Regions from separate parts of the Homo sapiens genome. Here regions 1 and 2 are each linked to region 3. Evidence: promoter capture Hi-C in 16 types of primary human blood cells and fetal thymus (Javierre and others, 2016). All regions are on one chromosome and are shown on one strand. The core of a region is centred on a gene start or on the middle of the fragment in contact, and the rest is flanking DNA. Distances in the headings are between cores, read along the strand shown.

Evidence for each region. Contacts are between HindIII fragments. The CHiCAGO score rates a contact against its expected background, and 5 or more counts as called.
Region 1: a contact is called between the fragment with the promoter of PORCN here and the fragment with the promoter of UXT-AS1 in region 3, in 4 of 17 cell types (monocytes, M1 macrophages, total B cells and 1 more). The highest score is 6.5, in monocytes.
Region 2: a contact is called between the fragment with the promoter of SLC38A5 here and the fragment with the promoter of UXT-AS1 in region 3, in 6 of 17 cell types (fetal thymus, naive B cells, total CD4 T cells and 3 more). The highest score is 9.2, in fetal thymus.

Annotation. Positions count from the first base shown.
Region 1 is chrX:48,506,535-48,510,883 of GRCh38, reverse strand. PORCN (porcupine O-acyltransferase) reads right to left here and starts at 1,892. Exons shown (of 15, transcript NM_203475.3): 1 at 1,781-1,892; 2 at 928-1,100. The coding sequence starts at 1,063. It overlaps PORCN-DT (PORCN divergent transcript), which reads left to right and starts at 2,045. Exons shown (of 2, transcript NR_135596.1): 1 at 2,045-2,165; 2 at 3,829-4,349. RefSeq lists a silencer at 1,666-2,065. The HindIII fragment of the contact is 7,257 bases long and covers 1-4,349 here.
Region 2 is chrX:48,469,010-48,472,412 of GRCh38, reverse strand. SLC38A5 (solute carrier family 38 member 5) reads left to right here and starts at 2,153. Exons shown (of 17, transcript NM_033518.4): 1 at 2,153-2,231; 2 at 2,977-3,078. The HindIII fragment of the contact is 10,592 bases long and covers 1-3,403 here.
Region 3 is chrX:47,655,890-47,660,349 of GRCh38, reverse strand. UXT-AS1 (UXT antisense RNA 1) reads right to left here and starts at 1,517. Exons shown (of 2, transcript NR_028119.1): 1 at 1,170-1,517; 2 at 239-455. UXT (ubiquitously expressed prefoldin like chaperone) reads left to right here and starts at 1,170. Exons shown (of 7, transcript NM_004182.4): 1 at 1,170-1,235; 2 at 1,414-1,520; 3 at 2,487-2,568; 4 at 2,711-2,778; 5 at 3,060-3,167. The coding sequence starts at 1,423. RefSeq lists silencers at 901-1,240, 1,519-1,598 and enhancers at 821-1,322, 1,079-1,338, 1,323-1,826. The HindIII fragment of the contact is 4,632 bases long and covers 1-4,460 here.

The DNA.
Region 1 (4,349 bases), core at 643-3,142, 850 kb before region 3:
GGCCACACACTGAAGGATGTGGGGTACAGTGTCATGATGTCAGCAGGTTATTCAGGCAATTCAGGAAGATGATAGATAGATAGATGGATAGATAGATAGATAGATAGATGGATAGATATACAGATAGATAGATAGATAGACAGATAGAGCCAGCTAACGTGGCAAGATGTTGACAGAGAATCTGGTGATGCATACGTGGGTGCTCACTGTACTATTTTTTCAACATTTCAGTAGCTTTGAAAAATTTCAAAATAATAAACCTGGGAAAAAATAGAACATCCATTTAAAATTAAAAAAGAAAGAAAGAAAAAAGAAAGTGTAGAACCTTCGGATCTCAGATTTCCAGAAATCTCCGCCTCCTATAGGAATCTTGGGGACTTGGAATCTTTCATTAAGATACAGGCCTGCTATGACTGTGGAAACATTTCAGAATCCTAGAATCCAGAAATCGCATCATGCCCTGATTATAGAAATCCACAATGCCAACATTTTAGAAGTCTAGAATGTGAGAATTTCAAATTGTCAGAATCTCCAAACGCTGTAATCATGGTACTTTGGGATTCCATAACCCTGTGACATCAGCATGCCAATGTCTTATAACCTTGGGATGTAGACATTTCAGAATCCCAAGATCCAAGAATCTCAGCTTTCTGGAATCCCAGAACTCAGGAATACTGAAGGGCATGGCTTGGCATGGCAGGATGTGGCTCGGTGTGGCATGGCATGGGGTGGCTGGCATAGTAGGATGTGGTATGGTGGAATGGGGTTTGGCCTGGTGGGATGTGGTGGGGCTGAACATGTTGGGGTCCAGCTTGGACATGCTAGGGCCTGGCAGGATGTGACAGGGTAAGGTGTGGCTCGATATGGATGAATGTGGGAGGTCTGATATGGCCTGGCATGGTGGCACACGGTATGGCAGGCACTTACCGAGCCTCCAGAGGAGGCGGCAGGCGAGGCAGATGGCAAGGAGCAGCCAGATCTGGTCAAGGCCCTGCTGGGCAGTAGGCAGGAGACAGCCTTGCAGTAGCTGCTGGAAAAATTCCTGGCGGCTAAAGGTGGCCATTGCAGACCCCCACGGATGGATGGCCAGATGGATAGATCTGTCAAAGCAGGGACACAGAGGGAGCGGGTGTCCGTGGGGCAGACCTCGCTTAAAGGATGCACTCTGGCACTCACATTTCAGTTTGGGGCTGCCCAGCCCATGTAGAGGCACGGTACTGGAGGACTGGGGGAAGGCGTGAGAAGTCAGGTACATCAGACTGAGCCACCAACTGTGTGCATGTGGGTGTTCGGCATGCACACGCACAGCCTGTGACCTGGAGTGAATGAAGGACCTCTGTCTCTCCAGTGCTGTGAACAGTCCAGTCCGATGGTGATGGGATGGCATACATTTCAGGCCCATATATCAAATGGGGCGGGCGACGGGAAGGGGAATCCCTGGTTTCCAAGGTAGAGTCGCTCTGAGTGGAGGGCAGAGAGGGGGATTCTGTGACACTTGGGGGCCGTGTGCATCTCTCCTTGTATGGATGCGGCGGCACGGGGAGGGGGGGTGTCCTGTATCCTCCGCGCCCCCCATCTCATCCCCACCCGGCGAGAGGCCGCCAACAAAGTCCTGCCCAGGTCCGGGGGCTGCAAGGAGGTGGTGGTAGGAGACATAGCCTGAGGGAGAGTCGGAAAGGTGATGGGGAGGGGGTCCTAGCACTCGCGCTACAGATCCGCCTGGGGAGGCCGGCCCAGGGATGGGAGCTGGGGAGCCGCGTGCGCACTACTGGCGACCTACCTGGCAGGAAAGAAGCCGTGGTCCTGGGGACCGAGGACGCGCTGCCGCCGCCGCTGCCTCCTCCGGGCAGCCTCCCCCGCAGGCCGCAAGGCCGGGACCAGCAGCGGCTCCCAGAGCGGCGCGGCGAGCGGGCCCTTTAAATCCCGGGGCGGCCCGGCCGCCGGCTCGGCCAATGGGAGAGCAGGAGGGGGGCGGGGACGGGGACGCGGAGGAGGGGAGCAGGAGGATTGAGGGGAGACCGGCGCGGGGGGACGTCGGCGCGCAGGACGTTCACGCCCGCACCTTTCCGGCCTGTGGCGGTTTCAGCCCCAGACCGTCTGCCTCCGGAGGATTTCTGGCCATCCAAGAACAAACTTCCGAATCTCCAAATTTCCAAGCCTTGGAAGTGAGAAGGGAAAGATGGGGGAGGGAGGAGGGAAGCCGCTGCACCCCCAAATAGTCACCCGCGCACGTCCTCTAAATACCGTGGTGTCCCCGTTTCACAGATGGGAAAACAAACCGAGATCTCTCCTTCCCCAACCTTTGAGAGAACCGAAGTAACTCCCAACCCTCCCACCTCCTGGGACCGGCCAGGAACATTTATAAGTAATGACTGTGTCACCTAGGAACACAAATTAGGCGCCTGTGCTTCCCCTGGGGACGAGCTGTGAGCACTTGGCGTGTCGTCGTTGAGAAGTGATTTGCATGCTTAATTCCCCAGCAGACTCTTTGCTTCGAAGGTGACCCCAGCGACTAGTAAATGTTCTCTGTGAACTAGAGGGAGGCTAGTACCGAGCACTTAAAAGGGGGGCATTTATAAAGCTCTTAAGGGCCAGGCTCGGTGGCTCACGCCTATAAACCCAGCACTTCGGGAGGCCAAGGGTAGGAGGATAGCTTGAGGTCAGGAGTTCGAGACCAGCCTGGCCAACATGGCGAAACCCCGTCTCTACTAAAAATACAAAAATTAGCCAGGCGTGGTGGCGCACGCTTGTAATCCCAGCTACTCGGGAGGTTAAAGCAGGAGAATCAGGAGGCAGAGGTTGCAGTGAGCCAAGATCGCGTCATTGTGGGCTACAAGAGCGAAACTCCGTCTCAAAATAAATAAATAAAGACTGGGCGTGGTGGCTCACACCTGTAACCCAGCACTTTGGAAGGCCGAGGCGGATGGATCACCTGAGGTCATGAGTTTGAGACCAGGCTGGCCAATATGGCGAAACCCTGTCTCTACTAAAAATACAAAAAATTTAGCTGGGCGCCTGTAATCCCAGCTACTCCGGAGGCTGAGGCAGGAGAATCACTTGAGCCCAGGAGACGGAGGTTGCAGTGAGCCGAGATCACGCCATTGCACTCCAGCCTGGGTGACAAGAGCAAAACTCCTTCTCCAAAATAAATAAATAAATAAACAAGAGCGAAACTCCTTCTCTAAATAAATAAATAAATAAAATAAAAAAGAAAGCGCTTACACTGGCCCCATCCGCACCTCTATCTGCACCAACACTAAAGATTTATGTAGCACCCGCCTTCTACCTACCCTACTGCTGCAGTTTCTAGGCATTCCCCTTTGTACCTAGGCTGATGAAGGGCCTATTTTTCCAAAAGAGCACTTACTGGGCGCTTACTGCACTACATGCTTAGCTGTGACGTGGAAGGGAGAAGGAAGCCCAGGTCAAACTGGACGCCACCCTGACCTGGGCAGCCAACTGAAACAGATTTTAATCAGATTAACAATGGCCTGTATGGAGCTGGGCAAGTCATGTTCACTCACCCGTCTCCATTGTCCTTTTCTGTTAAACAAAAGAGTGGGCTTGGCAGGTTTTTGCTGGGAAACACCAATGGTAATTGAAGAGAAATGTATATTTTCTCTCTATTTTAACATGAAGTTAAATGGAGTTCTAGCTCATAAATTAGTATTCATGTATTACAAACAAAAAACATTTAATACGGTAAGAATATGTATATATAAGGAATAATAGCTTAGACCAGATGCACAAATATCAATTCTTTTCCTTAACAGCAGAATACAGGACATACATTTTATGAATTAAATTTCATTTTAATTTTTTTCTCAGTTGTCAAACCCACTCAAGTTGAGTCAACAATGACCCACAGCACCTACCAGAAATACTTCCCTCAATTGCAAGACTTGGCATTTAAAACTGGAAGATTCTTACCACATGTGCTCCTGGGCTTTGCGGACTTGATTGTTTCCATCTAGGCTTTTGACCTGTGTCACAAAGAAGTAGGATCTAGGTTTTAGGATATATAACGAACATCTACAAATCCGAAGAGGACAAACAATACACTTGGCAATAGACATTGGGTACAAATAGGTAATTCACAGCAGAAGAAACCTAAAATGGTCAATATGTATAATATATGAAAAGATAACCCAATCTCTTTACTGCTCAGGGAAATGTAAAATTAAAACAACAGTGAGATATAATACCATTTTACATCTACCAGATGTTGTGCTTCATATTTTTATCACTGGAGCTTAGTAGAGGGTGGACACTCAATAAATGTCTGTGGTCATTCTAGGTTGTGGTTTCTGGGGTGTTTTAGATGAGCTCTCCATAATTAAAGAGATACA
Region 2 (3,403 bases), core at 904-3,403, 810 kb before region 3:
TGGGCAGGAGTGTGTGCGCACGTGTGTGTGAATATGCTGAGTGTATCTCACCTGCCCGTTCTCAGCCACAGCCACACGTATGTGAGCTGTGCCTGCGTCTTCCTATGTAACTTGCCTGGTGCTGCGTTCTGTCTATGGCCGCCTGCCAAACTTGTGCTTTTTTTTTTTTTTTTTTTTGAGATGGAGTCTCACTCTGTCGCTTGGGCCGGAGTGCAGTGGCGCGATCTTGGCTCACTGCAACCTCCGCCTTCCAGGTTCAAGCAATTCTCTTGCCTCAGCCTCCCGAGTAGCTGGGATTACAGGAACCCGCCACCACGCCCAGCTAATTTTTTTTGTATTTTTAGTAGAGACGGGGTTTCGCCACGTTGGCCAGGCTGGTCTCGAACTACTGACCTCATGATTCACTCACCTTGGCCTCCCAAAGTGCTGGGATTACAGGCATGAACCACTGCACCCGGCCCAACTCATACCTTTTTTTTTTTTTTTTTTTTGGCAACCGTGTGCATTGGTACTGTCTGTCGGTGCAGTTCATCTATATGTTGTTGTGTGTGTGTGTTGCTTGGGTGTTTGTCTCCTTTGTAATGGTCGTGGGTGACAAGTGTGTCAGAGTACTTGTCCCTCCTATATGTGTATCTATGCGCACGTATCTTTCTTTGTGTGTCTGCTGCTGTATTTGTGTCTCTTCTTAGCGAGTGGCTGCAGGTATGTGTGCCCTCGGGGTGTTTCTTCTGGTGCCATGGTATGAGTACTATCTGGTTCTCTTGTTTTTTCCTTGTGTAGCTTTCAGTGTGGTTTCTGGATTTTTTCTTTGCAACGATAGTAAGCGTACTCTGCATTCCTGTGCTTTGTGTTTGTGTGCAGGTATATGCTTTCCCTATATGTTTCTTTTCTGACTTGATTTGTGACTAGCTGTGTGTGTACACGGCTGTGTGCAGCCATTTGCTGAAATGCAGTTGTGTGTGTGTGTGTGTGTGAGAGAGAGAGAGAGAGGAGAGAGAGAGAGAAGGAGACTATGGCTTTTCTGTTTGTACAAAAATCATGTCAGCCTATGAGTGCCTCTCTCTGTGACTGGAGCTGTATGTGGTTACATGTGGTCACAAGTGCACATTCAAGTTCACATACACAGAGATATCATTTTAGGGCTTGAACCTGGAAGTTTGCCTCCAGGGTCATCTGAACCTGGATTCAGGTTCAGATCCAGGGCCATCTGAACCTGGATCGTGTGTGTGGGAAAGACCCAGGACCCACACACAATGTCATCAGCTGTGTGTAATTGTGTGCTCTGTGTGTGGCTGTGAATCTGTGTGTGTGATTTGCCTGTTGATTGTCTTTGGCATGGCTGTGGGTCCACGGGCGGTGAGGTTCAGGAGTCTCGAGTGTCTGGAAATCGGCACAAGCCTATCCCTGTGTTAGTCTGTGCTCTCTGTGAGCGGCTCTGAGCCTGTCGGTATTGATAGCTGTAAGACTATCGTCACTCTGTGTGGCCACGTGTGTGACTGTCCCATGAGCCATTGCTCTTAACGTGCAGTGGTGAGTCTGTGTGTGTTCATGTCTGTCAGTCTTTATTCTCTTGTGTGGCTGTGAGTCTTTGTGCACCTCTGTGAGTGATGGCGAGTTGGCCCCCGTATCTGAGCCCCTTGATGGGGCTGTGATGGGTCCTGTTGTGTAGCTGCGATTCCTGAGTGTGCAGGAGTCTCTCTCCCGCTGTGGGGAAGTAAACGCCCCATCCCTTGTCCTCCTCCAACTGTGGGTGGGGTGAGGGCATCTAGGCCAGCTTTGAAGCCCCAGCCAGCTCCTGGCCTTTCCGGGAATTCTGTGTTCCCTGTCGGGGGTGGGCAGGCGGGCGAGGGGCCCAGACAGAGGCCTCTTGTCCACCTGGGCTTCAAGCAGCCCAGTCGAGGTGGTCCCAGACCCCAAGTCCACCCTGCCTGACATCCTGTAGCGGACACGTGGCTTGCCTGGGACAGGCATGCCTGTCATATGCCTGGAGGGGAGTGAACAGACGGACTCCCATAGAAGACAGACGGACAGACAGATAGTGGGACTTCTCAGGGCTTGGACAAGCCCCACCCCACGCTTGGGGTGGGGTCCAGGACTACAGTGCCCGCCCAGTTTGCGGACAGTGTGAGTTCACAGTCCACATTCCCCACCCAGCCACAAATGCCCTCCCTGCCTCCCTCTGGGGGCCCCCAAGATCTAGGGTCCTCTCGTGCCTAGGCTGTCTGCCTGAGGTCTGCCTGGAATAGCCTGGCTACTACCCCTGCACCTGTTCCCCTGCTGTCCCCAGGCCTCTCTGCCTGAATCTGCCTCTCTCTGCCTCTTTTCTCCTGTCCCTCCAGGAGTCTCTCTGCCTCAACCACTCTCTCTGCCCCTTCATCTCTCTGAGCTGGTGTGTCTGGTCCTACCCTCTGTTTGGGGAGCTGTCTGGCTCTGTCCCCCACCTCTTGGCCAGCCTGTGTCTCCTGTCTATGACTGAGCCCAATTGCCTGTTGCCTTTCTGCAGGTGTTTCCACGAGCCTATCCCTACCCACCTGTTTGTTTCTGAGTCTGCCTGTGTGTCCCTTTCTCCCTGTCTCTGCCTGTCTTCCAAGCTCCCCTAGCATCCCCTCCTCCCGCCCATCTGTCTTTCTGTCCCTTCTGTGGTCTGTCTGTTCCTGTGCTGTTTCTCATGCCTGCTTTCTTTGTAACTTCAGTTCTCCTACTCTCTCTCTGTCTCCTCTCTGCACCTTTTTCTGCCATCCATCCCATCCTGCTGTCCGTCTGCTCTGTGAGTCCATCCCCTCTGTCTGCCTGTCACTCTCTCTAGCTGTGGGTCTACACCCTCAATCTTTCAGGCCATTTCCCCCACCATCAACACACAAACAAACCGCTGTCTCCCTCCAAGTGGGTCCAGATAGGGGGCGCCCCTTCTCCACCTCTTCCCCCGCCCAGGGCCAGAAGGAGGGAAACGAAATTAAAATTAACATTTCTTCTCAGGAAAAAAAAAAAAGTACCGCTCCAGAGCAGGAGCCTAGGCAGCCGAGAGGGTGCCCGAACCTGAGTCTGAGTTGCGGCCACTTCAGGAGCTGAGAGGAGCAGGTAGGTGAGGAGGGAGCGTGGGCTGCGGGGATGGTGTTCCTGGGGGCCTGAGATATGAGTAGGGGTCCTGGGAGGGGGCTCGGGGTTCCTTGGAGACATTTTAGCACTAGTGGGGAATGGAATGGCGTGTATGGGGAGGTCCTTTTTGTACCCTGATCCCAGGAAGTGAATTCAGGTGTGGGTGGGAGGCTCCGGAGGGTGCTGGTGGTGGGGGATGGGACTCCTTGAGACCCTCCCTGTCCCAGGAACGGGATTCAGGACTTGGGAAAAGGATTTCCTGAGCCAGTTTGAGCTCTAATGGGGACCTTGAATGGGGGTTTCTGAG
Region 3 (4,460 bases), core at 268-2,767:
AACTTTTTTAAAAATTAGATGGGCGTGGTGGTGTATGCCAGTAGTCCCAGGTACTCCAGAGGCTGAAGCGGGAGGATCACTTGAGCCTGGGAGGTTGAGGCTGCAATGAGTCATGATCATACCACTGCACTCCAGCCTAGGGGACACAGACCCTGTCTAAAAAAGAAAAAAAAGAAAGAAAGAGAGAGAGAGAGAAAGAAAGAGAGAGAGAGAGAAAAGAAAGGAAGGAAGGAAGGAAGGAAGGGCTTAACTTGCTTGGGTTTTGAGCATTTGAAAAAAAAAACTTGCTTTTACATATGAAACACAAATTATCTGGGAAGACTTCCTTGGTAGGGGTGGGTGCTCTAGGCTCTACAGATGGAAATAGCATTTGGGGATTCATCCCATGGTCTGGATTCTTCTCCAGGCAAAGGCCCATTCTTGCTGGGTTATAAGTTCTTGTTTGAAAATCTAACCTGAAAAATAAATTCACTCAGTCACTCTAGTGCATAAGAATAAATTCACAAAAACCTTACCATTTAAATAAAAACATGGGAACTATGCCTAACTACAAGATGGCCAATCTTCGGCAGAGGACTTCAGCCACCCTCTCCATTTGACTATCAAACGAGGTGATTAGACAGAGAGTGTTGTCAATTTCCACTTGAGCCTCACTTATGGGTTGCGAGTGCAGAGCTGGAGTTATCAAAGATGAATTTTAGAAAACCTGTCTCTGTTTAAAACCTTTTAAATGCTTATACTCAGTCCCATTGCCAGGAGTGAAATCCAAACCTCCCGTGTGAAAAATCAATATCCAGGCCGACAGATCACACGGGATCTTCCTTATAGACCAGAACCATAGTCAATTTTTAGGTCCTTTTAAATATTAAACTCTTCACTTCCTCTACCTCCACCTGTGCGTCGCGCCTACCTTAGAACCCGCCAAATCCCATTAAATCCCACCCCCACCAGCCACACACGGTCTCCATAGGCTCCAGGCGCCGCTTTTGCAGTCCCCCATTGGCCGGTTTATTGCCAGACGGCCCCTGCTCGCACGCCCTAGTCTTCTTTGATCTCCTCGGATTCCGTGAAGCCCTGCCCTTCTCTTCTCCCCTTTGGCCCGTCTTCTTCCACTCAGGCCCGCCCCTCCCCAACTGGCTATTTGGTTGGCCAGCGCGCTTGCCACTTACGTCATTCACCCGCGCCACCCGGAAGCCGCGGTTCCTACCAACCGTTCTTATTGCTGGCGGCCTGAGGTAAAGGCCGCGCTTGGGTGTCCCTGGGTGGTCGGGTCCCCGAGTTGGGAGGGGCGGAAGGCTGAACCTCCAGCTTGAGCCGGACAAGCCGATTCCCAGCGTTGAGAGGGTAGAGATGAACTGTGTGTGAGGCCAAACTGGATCGGTCAACATGGTCTTCCCCCTCCCCACTCCCCAGGAGCCCATCATGGCGACGCCCCCTAAGCGGCGGGCGGTGGAGGCCACGGGGGAGAAAGTGCTGCGCTACGAGACCTTCATCAGTGACGTGCTGCAGCGGGACTTGCGGTGAGTGACAGTGCGGGGGGCGGGGCGTTTGGAACATTCCACGTGGTGGGTGGGGCGTTCAAAGTTAGGGCCAACCCTTTGAATTGGCGGGCGAGGCGTTCAGAGTCCGGCCCCGCGCTCCTTGGAGCGAGAAGTGGGGACGACATCCGGGGTGCAGTTTGGCTGGGACGTGGCGTTCATAGCAGGGGCGTGTCAGCGCATGCGCGGCCTCCGATGTTTAACAGATTAAGGCTTGTTTTCTGGAGCCACAGTTCTCGGGTTCGAATCCTGGCTCGGCCATTCTTCATCCTTGTGAATACGTCCTACCTCGCCTTTCTGTGCCCTATAAACTTTACTCTTCTGTGAAATGGGGAGTTTTCTGGAACCTTCCCCATGCAGTGGTTTTGAGTTTTTGATGTGTCCCATCTTTGTCAAGAATTTAGCATGGATGCCTGAAACATAGTAGAGGTTCAATGAGTATGAAGAAATATTATTGCAATCTTTGTTAATCTAAGCAGGAAATAAGGTGTTCAGAACTAGGCCTATGAGCATCCTAAAAGGGATGGAGGATTTTTCTAGGGTGAGGATGGGACATTATGATTGGAGTTCAGTATTGGGAGTATAATAATAGTAATTATAACTAACATGTATATAGAGAGTTTACCATTTGATAAGCATTATTCTAGATGCTTTGTAGTAAACGCTCATTTAATCCTAATGACTCTACAAGGTAATACTGTCATCTGTATTTTATAAATGGGGAAACTGAGTCCCAAACAGGTTATTTACTTGCCAAAGTCACACATCTATAAAGGATAGAGCCCAGATCCAAACCCAGGCAGTCTGACCCAGAGCCGAAAATTAACTTATGCACTAAAAAGCCTTTTCAGTGTATGGTGACATGAGAGTCTCAGAGGGTCATGATATGAGGTATACTAGGAGGAATGGGGCTGCCTATTGGTCACCATTGTACTTTCGTCCCATCAGAAAGGTGCTGGACCATCGAGACAAGGTATATGAGCAGCTGGCCAAATACCTTCAACTGAGAAATGTCATTGAGCGACTCCAGGTAAAGACTATGGGATTGGGTACCATTTTTTTGGTATGTGTGGGCAAGGGAGGGAAATGGGAAGAGAGACTCCAGACCCAACCCTGTCACCTGACCTAAGAGTTCACCACTGACCCCTACCTCTTTTTCCCTGGCCCCACAGGAAGCTAAGCACTCGGAGTTATATATGCAGGTGGATTTGGGCTGTAACTTCTTCGTTGACACAGTGGTGTGAGTGTCTACCCGCCCCTCTGAGCCCACAGGGTTCAGCTTACCCCTTCCCTCATGCAACTTATATTTTTTTGAGTATCTTCTATGTACCAGGCACTATGCGAGGTTTTATATCCCAGTAGGATATAAGCTAGGTGCTGGGGATGTGACAGTGAATAAAATAGGACAAAATCCCTGCCTTCCCAGAGCCTCAATTTGGGGAAGGGTGGGGAGCAAAACATAAACTATGCTAAACAGTGATAAGGACTTCTCCCCACTTCCTCTAACCTCTCTTTCCTCAGCCCAGATACTTCACGCATCTATGTGGCCCTGGGATATGGTTTTTTCCTGGAGTTGACACTGGCAGAAGCTCTCAAGTTCATTGATCGTAAGAGCTCTCTCCTCACAGAGTAAGTCCATTCCATGAGGATAGTGTGTAAAAACACCACCATTTCCAACACTCTTCTCCCTTTACCCATGGCTGCCTGGAATGATACTTAAGGACTCATCTCCCCTCCTCTTCAGAGCTGGGGCTGAAGAAATGGGGTTGCAAAGCCCATGTGTAGCACATAATAAGCACTCAAAAAATGATCTTTGTATTGTTCATTCACGCAAACATTTATTGGGCATCTTCTGTATGCCAGGCACTGTGCTTAGCAGTGGGAATGCAGCAGTGAACAAGACAGAAGAGTTCCTTGAAGGCTTACAATCTAGAAGGACTATACTGTTATACATAAATACAATTATGACCAGATCCATGAGGTCTCAGCCTGTTAGAATTGGTAACAAGAAAACTAGTTACCTATGATTTCACTTCCTGCTAATTTTACTATTCATTCACTGTGTTCCTGCCACACTCACCTTCACATGCTTCTTTCAACACCCCAAGAATGATCCCACCCCAGGGATATTGCTGTAGCTGTTCTCTCTGCCTGCACTGCTCTTTCCCCCAGTACCCACATGGCTTCCTTTCTCCTCACTCACTCGTCTTGCTTAAATGTCACTTCCTCAACAAGGCCCTCTGTAACCTAACTTTCAAATTACAGCCCCTGGCATGCTTGATTCCCCTCCTTCTACTTTTTTTCTACTAACACTTATCACCCCCTAATATTTACTATGTAATTTCTTTCTCATGTTGTCTCCTCCAATTAGAATGTAAGTTTTACAAAGGGGGAGATTTGGTTTATTCCCTTATACCCAGGTGACTAGAGTAGTACAAGCATATAGTAGACACTCTGTGTTTTTGTTTTTAAGAGATGGTGTCTCGCTGTGTTGCCCAGGCTGGAATGCAGTGACTGTTTACAGCTGCGATCATAGCATACTACATCCTCAAACTCCTGGGCTCAAGCAATCCCCTTGCTTCAGCCTGCCAAGTAACTGGGACTACAGGCGCACTGCTGTACCCGGCTTTGTGTTTGTTGAAATAATTTGAAAGGGTATGCTGGAAGCATATTAAAGTGGTTATTGAAGCAGATCTGTGTTGGGGGTGATGGGGAGAGAAAATGTGGGCTCCAGTTGAGTTTAAGGCAGGAGTGTCCAATCTTTTGGTTTCCGTGGGCCACATTGGGAGATTTGTCTTGGGCCATACATAAAATACACTAATGCTAATGATAGCTGATGAGCTAAAATAAAAAAGTTGCAAAAAAAAATCACATAATGTTTTAAGAAAGTTTATGAATTTGTGTTGGGCTGCATTCAAAGCC